Linked DNA regions of Homo sapiens: region 2 is linked to region 1. Evidence: promoter capture Hi-C in 16 types of primary human blood cells and fetal thymus (Javierre and others, 2016). All regions are on one chromosome and are shown on one strand. Each heading gives the region's core, a stretch centred on a gene start or on the middle of the fragment in contact. The rest is flanking DNA. Distances are from core to core; before and after follow the strand shown. Region 1 holds the start of TAF6 (TATA-box binding protein associated factor 6). Region 2 holds the start of AZGP1 (alpha-2-glycoprotein 1, zinc-binding).

Evidence for each region. Contacts are between HindIII fragments. The CHiCAGO score rates a contact against its expected background, and 5 or more counts as called.
Region 2: the fragment with the promoter of AZGP1 here is called in contact with the fragment with the promoter of TAF6 in region 1 in 1 of 17 cell types (neutrophils); the score reaches 9.8 in neutrophils.

Annotation. Positions count from the first base shown.
Region 1 is chr7:100,118,083-100,120,782 of GRCh38, forward strand. It overlaps TAF6 (TATA-box binding protein associated factor 6), which reads right to left and starts at 1,276. Exons shown (of 15, transcript NM_139315.3): 1 at 1,122-1,276. It overlaps CNPY4 (canopy FGF signaling regulator 4), which reads left to right and starts at 1,552. Exons shown (of 6, transcript NM_152755.2): 1 at 1,552-1,780. The coding sequence starts at 1,663. RefSeq lists enhancers at 1,229-1,378, 1,589-1,808, 2,179-2,248. The HindIII fragment of the contact is 7,272 bases long and covers 1-2,700 here.
Region 2 is chr7:99,974,675-99,977,374 of GRCh38, forward strand. AZGP1 (alpha-2-glycoprotein 1, zinc-binding) reads right to left here and starts at 1,357. Exons shown (of 4, transcript NM_001185.4): 1 at 1,271-1,357. The coding sequence starts at 1,346. The HindIII fragment of the contact is 13,516 bases long and covers 5-2,700 here.

The DNA of each region.
Region 1 (2,700 bases), core at 26-2,525:
AGGTGCAGTGGCTCACGCCTGTAATTTGGGAGGCCAAGGCGGGAAGATCACCTGAGGTTAGGAGTTCGAGACCACCCTGGCCAACATGGTGAAACCCTGTCTTTTTGTAAAAACACAAAAATTAACCAGACATGGTGGCGGGCGCCTGTAGTCCCAGCTATCTGGGAGGCTGAGGTGGGAGAACCGCTTGAACCAGGAAGCGGAGGTTGCAGTGAACCGAGATCGTGCCACTGCACTCCAGCCTGGGCGATAGAGAGAGACTCCATCTCAAAAAAAAAAAAAAAGCAAATTGGAGCCAAGAGAGGTAACTCACCCCAGTAATCCCAGCACTTTGGAAGGCAGAGGTGGGGGGATTGTTTGAGGCCAGGAGTTTGAGACAGCCTGGTCAACATAGTGAGACCCCCATTTCTGCAAAAATTAAAAAATTAGACGGACCTGGTGGTGTGAACCTGTCATCCCAGCTACTTAGGAGGCTGAGGCAGGAGGATCGCTTGAACTGAGGAGTTGGAGGCTGCAGTGAGCCAAGATGGTGCCACTGCACAACAGCCTGGGTAACAGACGGAAACCCTGTCTCAAAAAAAAAACAAAAAAAAATTAAAGTGGCACACTTGCAGTTGGACATTAGGAAGATTAACATATCAATACTGCTTAGGAGTAGTACAGGTAGGGTGGGGCCGTGCTGGAAGGATGGGAAGAGGGAGGCCGAAAAACAAATTGGTTCTTTTCAAACCATCCCTGATCTCCTCCCCGACTTTTATAAGTCTTATCTATAGGGAACACAACTATTCGAGACATACTCTGTGCCTGGCGCCGGGTTTACAAGAGGGGGTCGTGTCCCACTTCCCTGGCGAACTCCTACGAATCCTTCAATACCCGGCGGTACCCTCTGCCAGTAAAGGCTCATAAAACACGCTACAGTCACAGGATCTCCTCAGATCAGTGGAGGCGGCAGGAAGGCGTCCCAGGGAAGGGTTAACTTAAGCGAGATCCCAGCAGAGAAGCAGGTCGAAGATCCCCGGGCAGCGCGAAAGGAGGTTCAGAGAGCCCACCCCATCTCCTGCAACATCTCTCCAATGCAGGCACACACACGGGGTCCCCACGAGCACAGACACACAACCAACCGTCCTCTTTCCAGTCCCCACAAGGGACCTTCAAAGGGTCTCCTCCGGGGTACCACTCAGACCCGCCCCCGCCACCCGAGCGCGGGGAGCAGGAAAACTCTAGCGGCAGCCGAGACGCTGCTCACCCGGCGCTCGGCGCCATCTTGGCCCCGCCCCCTCGTGGGAGCAGGTCCTGGCAGAGCCTAAGAGCAAGTCACTGCCCCTTCCCCGTACCAGAATAAGTCCTCTAGGCTCGCAGAATGAAATTATATTTTAAAAGTTTGTTTCTACATCTATATATAAGGAGCACTCCCTCTTGGTGTAATTACTGCAATTTATTCCTTCACTACCCGGCTGCCAGGACCTTCAAGAGGCGCCACAAAACGGAGGCAGGGAAACCCGTAGCAACGAGGCCCCACCCTTGTTGGGCTGATCCTGCGCATGCGCCGACCTTCCTCGGCTGGATTTAAGGTTGCCGCTAGCCGCCTGGGAATTTAAGGGACCCACACTACCTTCCCGAAGTTGAAGGCAAGCGGTGATTGTTTGTAGACGGCGCTTTGTCATGGGACCTGTGCGGTTGGGAATATTGCTTTTCCTTTTTTTGGCCGTGCACGAGGCTTGGGCTGGGATGTTGAAGGAGGAGGACGATGACACAGAACGCTTGCCCAGCAAATGCGAAGGTATTTGAAGGGGGTAGCCCCTATAGGCATCGCCCGGCCACACCTCCTTCTTCTAGGCCGGACATCCTAGCCTGTATTGGGTGGGTCACCCGACCTCCTTGAAGGCTTGAGGGAGGTTCTGGTGGAGCTTGGCTGAATTTGGATGGGGTCAAGGAAGCGAACGTGTAGTGCCACCTCAAACTGCATCCAGAGAGAGCCTGCATTTTTTTGGCTGGCTTGGAACCCCCCGCCCGCCAATGGATTGTGGGAATTGTAGTTCAGGGACCATCGGCCCGGGACTGCCAACTTTTAGAGCATCTTCAGTGAGTGTTTACCTCATGTCACCAGACCTTAATCTGCAGAGGCTGCAGGAGCCGGGTGTGAGGCTCAGGCCTTGTGGACATCCGCTGCCCTACCCTAGCATAGACGCTCCCAAATTACAGGCCCCACACCCCGCTGAGGGGGTTTGAGGGTGAGTAATTCAGCCTTTGAAGCTCATAAACAAAAGGAAGCCACACAACTAGGAGAGTGTCCCCATCCGGTGAGACTTTGCAGACGGTGCGTACTATATGGATTTTTCAGCAAGCAGCGCCTTCCATAGCTGCACTAGCGTGGGGCCCAGTTGAGAAAGGGGGCTGGCCCTGATGCCCTAGTTTGCTGCCCTCCTGACTTTACGTTTCTTCCCTGGATTCCTTTTCTCTTCGCTTCACCCCCTCAACTGTATTCCAGTATCATGAAAGGCAGTCATGACAGTCTCATGACTTGGTCCTCATCTCTGTCTCCTTTCACCTCCGTGTGCCGCTCTTCTCCCCTGACCTGTCAATCTTTTTAAACAGACTTAATCACCTAATTGTATCAGTCCTTGCTTTAACACCTCTGCAGGCCTTCTATCAGAATACAGCCAACGGGCCTGGGCACAGTGGCTCACATCTGTAATCCCA
Region 2 (2,700 bases), core at 107-2,606, 140 kb before region 1:
TAAAAGCTTGAAGGGATGGATACCTCATTTTTGATGATGTGATTATTTCACATTGCATGCCTGAATCAAAACCTCTCATGTACCCCATAAATATATACACATACTATGCACCCACAGTTTTTTTTTTAATTTACAAAAAAATCAGTAGACCTTGAGTAAAGTGGATTACTCTCCATAGTGGTGGGCTTCATCCAATCAGTTGAAGGCCTTAAGAGAAAAAGCCTCAGATGTCCCCTAAAGAGGAAAGAATTCTGCCTACAGTCTGCCCTTGGAATCAAGACTAAGACATCAACTCTTCCCTGGGTCTCCAGCCTGCTGGCCGGCTCTGAAGATTTAGGACTTGTTACTCCTCCCAATAGTGTGAGTCAATTTCTTAAAATAAATCTCTACTCTCTCTCTCTTTTGTATACATATATGTAAATCTCTTCCTATGTGTGTGTGTATCCATGTGTATACAGTGTATGTATGTATGTGTACGTACATATATATGTATATGTGTACCACCTATTAGTTCTGTTTCTCTGGAGAACCCTGAGTAATTCAGATTTTGGCACAGAATCAGATTAACATTCCAAAGTGATTGTTATATAACAAACATATAACACCTTTTCTGACAATTTGTAAATGTCATGAATTTTAAACTCACACAACTGAGAAGCCATTCGCTTCCATGTCTTTATCCTGCACATTCTCATGCCACAAACAGCCTCCTTCCCTTATCCTAGGAGTGACTCTTGATCTCCCGGAGCTCCCACTCTCTTCTCTTCCAGCCACTCGCCTTCCAGACCCACTGCAGTGGTGTCTGAGTGTGGGATTTGGGCACGGGTTTCCTTCTAGCACCATCCCTCCAGCCAACCTGCCTTCCCACTTTCCCCTTGGGGCTGCTCTCTCTTTCCCTCAGCGTCAGGCAGGTGTACCCAGCCATCGGAAGGAGGGAAGGAACAGGAGCAGAAGCAGCTCCAGGCATATGGTTCCTACTCCGTCCTGACTGTCTACCCCAAGCAGGTCGCTTGGTCTTTGGAGTCTTTGTTTTCACTGTAAACTAGGGGTTTTAGATTCAGATTCCTGAAGGTCTTATTTCGGGCCAGCGCAGAGGCTCCCTGAATGCTCCTGGAAGTGTGTGAGCTGAGGGAGTTGACAGCCTTGGGCACCCATTCCTGCCGTATGCCAGGGTATCCCAGCTGCATCCAGCCTGTCTCCCAGCCACATGTCCTGTTCCTCACCTCCTTCCAGTCCTCTCCAGCACCCATCCCTTGCTTTCCCCACTCACCATCTTGGTTCTCCTGGGGGACAGCAGGACCCAGAAGCAGCAGCAGAGACAGCAGGACAGGCACCATTCTTACCATTGTGTCTGCTTGGAGGGTTCTGGGCAGGAGGCACAGATATTATCCTGGGTCCTGGGGCCCTGCCCAGGGGAGGTGAATCTACAGGCCAATGGGAGTGCCAGGACGGGCTCCTCCCCTAATAGAGAAAAAAAAATGATACACAAGCTAGGCTGGGCAGAGGTTATGAAGAATGAATCTACACACAGGATATGCAAATTCAGAGCTGAGTCCAGAGTTGATCTCTGGACTGAGGCTTTGTGTGTGCCTGGGGTGGAAGGATGCCAGTGGGTAGGAGGTGCGTGTGATGGGTGGCAAGCGCCTGGGATGTGTCACCCTTCCAGTCTATTGTGACAACCCCTGGGCCAGTAGGGGCATTTGTGTGTTTTTGGACCACACTGTATCCCTGCCTTCCAGAAAAACTCTCAACATGTCCAAGACATGGACCTGGGTAGACCCCAGCTGGGGTGGGACCCTCACTCTCCCACATCCGATCCTGCCAGAGGCTGTGTCTGGAGGACAGTCACATTCCCATCTCTCCCTCCTTCCTTTCTGTGCCTGTGGAATCCCAGCCTTCCATGATGGAAGCAGAAATAGCCGCATCCTCCTTTTGCAGCCTCCCTGGCAACAGAACGAGCCTCCCAAAATGCTGGGATTAAAGGCGTGAGCCACCACGCCCAGCCAAGATAATTTTTAATGCATACAACAAGACTCGTTTTACACAGACGAAGCCAGTTATTTGAAAACCAGGTCTTTCCAGGCACGCTCAGTGTTGATGGGCTATTTGCAGAGAGACCCTCCGAATACAAAGCAACATGCTATTCTAAAGTGACTGGGGCCCGGGTGCGGTGACTCATGCTTGTAATCCCAGCACTTTGGGAGGCTGAGGTGGTTGGATCACCTCAGGTTGAGGTCAGGTACTCGAGACCAGCCTGGGCAACATGATGAAACCTCGTCTCTACTGAAAAAATACAAGAATTAGCTGCGCGTGGTGGCACATGCCTATAATCCCAGCACTCAGGAAGCTGAGGCAGGGGTTTCACCATGTTGGCCAAGCTGGTTTTGAACTCCTGACCTCGTGATCTGCCCGCCTCGGTCTCCCAAAGTGCTGGGTTTACTAGTGTGAGCAACTGTGCCCAGCCTCTCTTTTGGTTAAAGAAACCTACAAAGGGACCTTTTATAGTGACTTCAATTTTATGGAATAATTGTAATGCTCCTAAGGCCGTTGTGCTCCAAAGTCTAGCCGCAGGTATTGTTATTGATTGGGCTCCAAAAGGGCATTATTGGCAAGATTGCTCCAGCAAAAATACCTCATGCTCAGAGTTTAATTATTTGTTAGATTATGTAGAGGATGGATGGCAGTCATACAGGCTGAGAC